Linked DNA regions of Homo sapiens: region 1 is linked to region 2. The links are contacts of gene promoters, found by promoter capture Hi-C in human tissues and cell types (Jung and others, 2019). All regions are on one chromosome and are shown on one strand. The core of a region is centred on a gene start or on the middle of the fragment in contact, and the rest is flanking DNA. Distances in the headings are between cores, read along the strand shown.

Region 1 (4,168 bases), core at 1-2,500, 510 kb after region 2:
TTAAAATATAAAGCATTTCAGATAGAAGGAAAGAGGAAGGCACAGGGAAGTTGGAATATCTGCTTTGTGCTAGGAACTAAGCTAGCTGCTTTTCATAATTCTCTGAATTAATGCTCACAACAATTCTAAAAGGTTGCAATTCCAATTTAGAGAAAAGAAAATGGTCGTTTACAGATGCAAAGTAACTTCTTCACTTTCACCAACCAGTAGAGACAAAGTCAGGATTTATACCAACTCTAATTCCAGAAAACAGTCTCTTTTCCTACACCATAATCCTCCCCTAGAGATAGAAAATATATTTTTTTCTCTTTAATTATCAGAAGCACTTTAGTGTTGAGGTTATGGAAAAGAGAACTTATTAAGCTAGTTACAAGGTCAAATAAAGTATTCGGTAGGGTAGGAACAGTTGGATAGGGCTCACACTCAATCTTTGATTGGAAAAAAGGACTTTTTTTTTTTTTTTTAGCATGTTTTAAGAAAGATTACCAAAGTAAATAAAGAGAAAGTTTTCTAGTTGCCCCAAGCAATCATGAAAACACTACATATCTATGTGATTACTTAGCAAAGTCAAAAAGCATTTTATTGGGCAAATAAAAAGTCCAGAATGAACTCTGTGCCCATGACCTTTAAGCCACCTGAAAAACATGGAACGTGATGAAGTACAGCACATTCTCAAAGTCCACAGACATAAGGTTGAGAGGCAATTCTTTGGACACTTGACTTACAGTAAGCCTATTACTGGAATTCCAAGGGAGGAAGAGTTGTTTCTTCAAATAAAAATTAGCTGGTTTATATGTTGTTGCTTTGCATTGCCCAAGGGAAAAATGACTAAGGTATCACCTGAAAATATAGTACATTATTAGCATATATAAAAGCCTTTTAGCAAAACCTGATTTAAAAAATATGTCAGGCTACTTTCTAAACATATGTAATTTGTTCCAGTGTTTTTTGTTTTGGAGACAGGGTCTCCTTCGGTTGCCCAGGCTGGAGTGCAGTGGCATGATCACAGCTCACTACAGCCTACAGCCTCAATCTCCTGAGCCTAAGCAATCTTCCCACCCCAGCCTCCCAGTAGCTGAGACTACAGGTGCTTGCCACCATGCCTGGCTAAGTTTTGTATTTTTTGTAGAGACAGGATCTCACCATGTTGCCCAGGCTGGTCTCCAACTCCTGAGCTCAGGTGATCTGCCCGCCTTGGCCTCCCAAAGTGCTGGGATTACAGGAGTGACCCACCGTGCCTGGCTTGTTCCAGTTTTATAATACATGACTGTATTTCTTGATGATTGTAAAAATAATCAAACTTTAAAATATTCTATGATTCTGTGGTAAGAGTAGTTCTGTAGGAAAAAAGGATTTTTCTATTTTCCTGATTTACAGGTGACTTTATCTCCCTCTAGTGTTCAAAGAAACTAATGCAATCATTTGTGTTTTTCAGGTCTGGTTGTGATTAGCTGAAGGTCAATGTGTGGTAATAAAGCAACATCATTATTTGTTTTCATGGGAATTGGTCCATACATAGCTCAGGGTTTTCACAAACAAATACCACACGCATGAACTGTCAACCACATTTTGTAGGGTTCTTTTATATCTCAGTTATCTATTATAACTCTAACTTTGTGCTTGCATAATTCTTTGATAAAATATGATAAAATATGTTGACAAAATATGTTATTTTTAAATTTCAAGTTTCCAGAAAGAGAAAACAACAGCCCCCAGGGCTTGGTCCTTAAACCATCTTTCTTTCTTTTTTTTATTTATTCTATCTCGTTTGATGATCTCATCTAATCTCATGACTTCAATGACCGTCTATATTTAGATGAACTTTGAATCTATACCCTGACAGGAGCTGCACCCAGACCAGGATGGTTTCCTGCCTCTTCAGCATCTCAACTGGATGCCTACTAGGCAACTGAAACTTAACATGCTTAAAACTGAGTTTTTAAGAAATAATCCCACCAAAAAGTGGGCAAAGAATATGAATAGACAGTTCTCAAAAGAAGAGATACAGCCAATAAACATGTGAAAAAATGCTCCACATCCCTAACCATCAGGGAAATGCAAATTAAAACCACAATGAGATACCACCTTACTCCTACAAGAATGGCCATAATTAAAAAGTCAAAAAACAATAGATGTTGGTGTGGATGTGGTGAAAAGGGAACAGTTTTACACTGCTTGTGGGAATGTAAATTAGTACAACCATTATGGAAAACAGTATGGAGATTCCTTAAAGAGCTAAAAGTAGAGCTGTTAGGTAGTTAGGTAGACATTAGCAGCTCGGAGGGGGTGAGAGAAGAAAGCAGAAGGGCTGTCACTAAGACAGGCCCTGGCCCACCTAAATTCAGCCCCCAAATCACCATAGCTCCACCCTAATGGACAGAATTTGTGATAAAGTCTGTGGCCAGCACATCCTGGGGAAAGAAAAACTGGGGCACAGATAAAAATTTCCTAATGTGACACATGCCCCGTCCATCTAGGCCAGGGGTTTTCCAAGCTTTTGGCTTCCCTGGGCCACATTGAAAGAATCATCTTGGGCCATGCATAAAATACACTAACACTAACAATAGCTGATGAGCAAAAAAAAAGAAAAAAGAGAAAAATTGCAAAAAATCTCATAATGTTTTAATAAAGCTTACAAATTTGTGTTGGGCCACATTCAAAGCTGTCCTGGGCCACATTTGGACAAGCTTGATCTAGGCCATAACCCTGGGGAACCCCATCCTTATTATACAGTCATTATAGTAAAATTTACTTGTGGTTTTGCCCCTCTGAGTGGGCTTTTCTTAACGAAAGATCGGTAAAAACATGCTCAGTTTAACTTCAGCTATGTAACTATAAACTGCCAATCAAATGACATCATCCTGTCACTCAAACACAGCCCAGGCCTCAACTCCTCCCATAAAAGCATCCTGAGCTCTGCAAAGAGTGGCTGATTTCACTTCGTAGAAGTTGGCCCACTCTCCCTTTGAGAGTGTATTACTGTGCCTTAATGAACTTTGCTTTGAGCTTGCACTTTGCTGTTAGTTTGCATTTCTTTGCTCACTATCACAAGAACTGAGATTGCTGGTCCAGAGCTCCAGCTCTGTTGATCTCGGTTAAAGGATCCATCCCAAGGCAGCATCCCTGGTAACAGAACTACCATTCCATCTAGCAATCCCACTACTGGGTATCTACCCAAAGGAAAAAAAGTCATTATATAAAAAAGACACATGCACACCCATGTTTATAGCAGTACAATTCACAGTTGCAATAATATGGAACCAACATAAGTACCTATCAACCAATGAGTGGATAAAGAAGATGTGGTATATATACACCATGAGTGCTACTCAGCCATAAAAAAGGAATAAAATAATGTCTTTTGCAGCAACTTGGATGGGTCTGGAGGCCATTATTCTAAGTGAAGTAACTCAGGAATGGAAAACCAAATACTGTATGTTGTCACTTATAAGTGGGACCTGAGCTATGAGGACACAAAGGCATAAGAATGATATAATGGACTTTGGGGACTCAAGGTGGGAGGGGGTGAAGGATAAAAGACTACATATTGGGTACAGTGTACATTTCTTAGGTGACAGGTGTACTAAAATCTCAGAAATCACCACTAAAAAAAACTGAATTTTAAATTTAATTTCCTTCCTTCCTTCCCTTCTTTCCACTTCCTTTCCCCCTCCCCCTTTCCCTCCCTTCTCCCCTCGCCTCCCTTCCTCTCTCCTTTCCTTTCCTTTTTTTGACAGTCTTGCTCTGTTGCACAGGCTGGAGTACACTGAGGCGACCTCGGCTCACTGCAAACTCTGCCTCCTGGATTCAAGCGATTCTCATGCCTCAGCCTCCCAAGTAGCTGGGATTTACAGGCTTACACCATGACACTCAGCTAATTTTTGCAGCATGTTGGCCAGGCTGGTCTGGAACTCCTGACCTCAGGTGATCCACTGGTCAAGGCCTCCCAAAGTGCTGGGATTACAGGCATGAGCCAACACACCCAGATGAGTTTTAAATTTTCTTTCACCTTCCAACATGTCTTTCTGCTTCCTGGCCTTCCTCATTTTAAGGCACAACCATCCACCAAGAGGTTCAGGCAAAAAAAAATAACCCTAGGAGTAATTTTACCTTATCATCATCCCTTACATCTATTCTAGCAAGTCCTAGCAGATTTTCTTCCAAAATA
Region 2 (4,716 bases), core at 375-2,874:
CTCCCTGATGTGATGTTCTCCTCCCTGTGTTCATGTGTTCTCATTGTTCAGCTCCCACTTATGAGTGAGAAAACGCAGTGTTTGGTTTTCTGTTCCTGTGTTAGTGGGGTCTCACTATGTTGCCCAGATTGGTCTTAAACTCCTGGCTTCAAGAGATCCTCCTGCCTCAGGCATGATTACAGGTGTGAGCCACTGCACCTGGCCCATTTTGACTAGAATGTAACATAGTGGTTAATCAACACAAAGAAGCTAAGGATTGCAGGTGTGGGGTTGCTGGATTTGAGTAAGTTGTGAAGGAGAACATCATGTGGGAACAAACCTCTAGGATCCCTGTTCTTCCAGCAAGAACTGGAATTGGGCCTTTTGTGGGGTGGGGCTCTTTGATTCTGTGGAGGATCCTAACAGTGATGCCTGGGCTGATAGATCCAGGGGACTAAGAAGTCAGGGCTCCTCTGAGACATGTGACAAAACACAGCTGACACTGACTTGAAATAAAAGAGAGAGGATTTATTGGCTTCAAGGGTAGAGTTCACTGCAGACACATCTACCTCCTGAGGTTCCTGAGAGGGTGGGACATCACCCTCTCACCAGCAGCTTTTCTTCCCTCAAAGTTGGCTTCATTGGCATGCACTGTTGGTCCTTGTTACCGTAGGCTTATATCCTTCCAATTTAGTTATCCTAGTTTAAAGAGCTTATTTTTCTGCAGTAATACATCCAAAGCCCTAGGCCGAGTTCCTGGATCAACATGCCCAACCCAGAACCGATCACTGCGGTCCGGAAGATGACTGGCTAGTTCTGGGGGTTGAGGGTGGGAGGTGTCAGTACCCTGGAGCCACAAAGACTCATTGTGGGTGAGGGGGAAGGGCAGTTCCCATAGGAATAATGAACTGCTGTTACCAGAAAAGGCGGAGAAATGGATAATATTGAGCACACACTCAAAAGTCCCAAAGGAATGGCTATCCATTATTTGGGGACTTACTCCATATGGATATAGTTAAATTGTAAAATTGAATAAATCTTCCCTAAATCTGGACAGATGCAAGGGTGGGTGGGGAGGGACACAATATATTTACACTTTAGCATTTTTACTTTTTCTCCTACGTGGGACTGGTTGATGAAGATGCTATAGAAGTAAACAGAAAGCCGAAAGTATTAATACAGTAATTTTAAATTTTAGTGCCCTCTTTAGGCAAAGTATCTGGGAACGCTTTCAATAATCCATTTTTTCATCGTGACCACACCCTGTGTGTGCGACATGAGTATTACCGTCTTGCCCTTGCAGTTGGGGAAACCGAGGCATGACACTCCCCTATTCAGCTTTCTGGTGGGGTTGAGGAACAGTGTTGTCTGCACGACCTCAGAGGGTCTCCTCCACCCTCCGCGACACCTCTAGGAATCCTCCTGTCCTTCGACTTCGCAGAAGGAGAGCAACTCAGGCTCCGCCGCAGCCTCGGGACTCGTCCTCCGCCCAGCCGCACCCGCCCCGTTCTTCCGCACCTTCCTCAGGGAGGTCCCGCTGGCCAAGGTCTGGCTGTCCCTCCTGTCCTCTGCCCCCGCCTCCCTTCCACCGGTCCCCGACGTGCCGCCAGCTCCCAGCCCAGCGTCCCGCAGGGCGGTGCGGGCAGATGCCGCCGAAGCGTCTAGCGGGAAGGGCGCCGGCGCGGCTGGAGGTGAGGAGGCCGGACTCTTCGCTCTCCGCGGACCGGGGCACCGCGGCTGGAGCGGACGCCCGGCACCCGGGCGGGAGGAAGGTGGCGGCAGGGAGCGGCGAGAGGGTGGCGACGCAGGCGGGTCGGCGCCTGGAGAGCGAGCGGCGGGGAGCCGGGCGCTGCGGGGCCGCTCGGGGCCGCGCCGCGCTCGGCCACAAACCTCCCGGAGGCGCAGGACCCCCGGCGCCCTCCCGAGCGCGGGCGGGAGCCATGGCTTCGCGCGTCCCCGCTGCCGCTGCTGACTCGACACAATCGGCGGGTCGCGCGGGGGCCGTGGCGTAACCCGGGGGTGGGTGGCGGCGCGGAGCCGCCTCGAGAGCTCTGGGTGTCGCTGGGAGCTAGGAAGATGCCAGCACAAAGGCGAGCCGAGACCCAGCCCGCTGCGGAGGGCGGCGGGAAGAGCCGCTGAGGGGCGCGCCGAGCGCGCTCTGCCCCTGCGCCGCGTCTCTCCGGGCGCTTCTCGCGGTCTCGGGGTCGGGGACTGCAGCGCAGAGACTCTCGGCTCCGTGGCAGCGGCCGCAGCAGCCGTGAGCTGCATGCAACGCGCGGCGGCGCCCCCGGCCGCCTGCTTTCTCCTCGGCGCGCACGGACCGGCCGCAGGGCGCCGGGGCCGCGGGTCCGGGCGACTTTGGGGGCGCCCTCCCGCCCCGCGGCCGGGTCCCCACCCGCAGCTTGTGGCGACGGGCGCAAAGCCCAGGTGAGCGCGCGGCCCTCGCCGCAGGTAGCGGACGGCGGGAGGTGGCTTTGTTTTTCCTCCCTTGCGCCCCGGCGCGGTCATTCATTTGCCATTTCGGTTTCCGCTGCCCAGGATGTGTTGGATGGTTTGGTTCTCCAGGGAAACTGGGACTTTGGGGTCTATTTGAGCATCAGTTGAGGGAGAGGACGCTTCATTTCCTTTTTGGTTGGGAATGTGCCGTGAACATCCTCTGCTGGAGCTTGGGGCCTGGAGCAAACTGGGGCTGCAGATTTAGACGTAGACGTTTCCGAGGACGCGAGACTGCAGAGGTCTGACTCTCTCATGCCTTGTCTTCACTATTAGCAGCGCTCGGGTGCTTTTCGTCGTTTATTATTATTAATTTAGAGAACATCTTTACAGGCACATTTCTTTTAGAGTTAGAAGTCTTTGGAGTCAGTACAGAGAGCTCACAATTAGAGTTACAAGGGTTCAATCGATATTAAACTTCAGGAAGGAAAACATTTGTGATCATTACAGATAGAGGTGGACAGCATGCAAACTTCGGGGGCCTTTAGCTTTTGGGTTATGATTTCTGCTTTCACTGTCCTAGACTCACGCAAACTGTTTTCGTATATATATACCTTTGTGAAAGTGTGAAACTTGTCTTTTCTGGAGTAGTGTTCTATAGTTTGTCATTTAGAAGAAGAATATTTTAGTGTAATTAGTAGAGCTCTCCATGTGTTTGTCTTATAAATATGATTTTCTTTTTACTATTTCTCCTATTCCCTCGAGGGTTCATTTCTTCTGTTGCTTTGAGAGAGCTTTTTTTCTTTCTCTTCCCAACAGATGGCTGTATGTTCCAAGAGGTTATCTTTAAAATGACACACACATTATCTACAAAGAAAGAAAGATCAGTTATTGACTTTATCTTTGGAGTTATTAAAATAAAAGGCCTAATCTGGATGGGGATATTATTAATGGCGTGAAAATCTGGAGTTTGCTAATCTGTTTGGTCATCAGAAGATTCCTGCGGGGATTGTTTATATAGCGTGGGAGACAGATGGCATCCCTAGCAGACTAGAGAAGCCAGGCATAAAGGGTCATTGTATTCTTCAGAAATTATCCACTTCACTATTAGAGGTGGGGTAGGGTGGGGTGGAGGGTGGCAAAGACATTTTGATCTCTTAAAGGAGACACTGTAACGTTACTATCCAGCAGTCTAACCAGCTTTAATTTTTCTTTTTGTTGAACATTCAAAAAGTCCCAATTGAGCTATTTGTTTTGATTATTTCATTGGCACATTTTGGCTTCGATGTGGTTGTGTGAAGCAGTTTATTAACAAAAATGTCTTTGAACTTAAAAATAATCGTGCTGCTTCTGGGGGAAAATCAGTTGCACCTTTCTTAGCTCTTGTATATAAATGGCCCCTTGGACTCAAACCGTCTTCTGGCTGGAAAGACTTTAGTCTTCATTAGTTTGAATCCAGTTTCCTTCACCATCTCCGTGACAGGTGATTTCCAAATCCCCACCATTTGGCCGCAGACTCTGAGGTTTGGGCACCATGATGATTTCCCAGTCTAAGACATTCGCTTCACCATCGCCTCTATCACGGTATTGGGCAACATTTGGCAATGAATCTTTATGAATGGCTGTGGTGTCGGTAAAGAAATCAAAATCATTCTGAACATTTGAGATAAACCAGCTGGAGCTTTTCTGCGCCTACCACTGTTGTGGATTATCTATGTGTTGTGTAGATTGCAACCAGATCACAAAGCTAGTTTTCCCTCTTTATGAATGTGAAGGAAAATATTCCAGTAAATTAACATTTGCCAGCCACAGGACTAAATTTAATGAAGATTATGAGCAATGTTTGACCCCTCTGAACAGGAGACAAAAAATAAAAGTAAGCACTGGTTCTGTTTCACTTGGGCAATGTGATCTTGGGAGAAAAACCTATATTTTCTTACTCTTTTAAAAGGCTTTTGCAACACTGATTTCAGCCAAAGGCAAAGAAACCAAGGTTGTTACCTGTAGTTGAGGACAGATGCTTTGGCGTTTTCTCCTAGATGAATGTGTTTTGCAGGAGAGGTGGCTTTTGGGATCTTCCCAGTTTTAATATGTGCCTACACATCAATGAAATGATCTTGCATTCAAAATGCTTGTTAAGTCTATATGGTTGGTATCTGTGTAACCTCTAACCAGGTGGCTTTCTCTGTTGTGAAGTGTTCCTTTAAGAGAAACCAGAGGCTTCTCGCCTGGGGCTTGCTGTGGGCCTGGCCTGGATCCACATTCTTGTGCATTGCTGACTACTTTCTTGGGAAAAACTGGAAC

What was found. The method cuts DNA at HindIII sites, captures the fragments that hold promoters and counts their contacts. A contact is called where the count stands out against the background at its distance.
Region 1: a contact is called between a fragment that was not itself captured here and the fragment with the promoter of HECW2 in region 2, in 1 of the 25 tissues and cell types used here (IMR-90 fibroblasts).

What each region holds. Positions count from the first base shown.
Region 1 is chr2:196,075,676-196,079,843 of GRCh38, reverse strand. No RefSeq gene overlaps it. Among named protein-coding and RNA genes, the nearest start is that of DNAH7, 8.9 kb to the right of the region's middle. The HindIII fragment of the contact is 5,218 bases long and covers 1-3,859 here.
Region 2 is chr2:196,590,462-196,595,177 of GRCh38, reverse strand. It overlaps HECW2 (HECT, C2 and WW domain containing E3 ubiquitin protein ligase 2), which reads left to right and starts at 1,624. Exons shown (of 29, transcript NM_001348768.2): 1 at 1,624-1,670. RefSeq lists silencers at 1,666-1,935, 2,016-2,395. The HindIII fragment of the contact is 8,801 bases long and covers 1-4,716 here.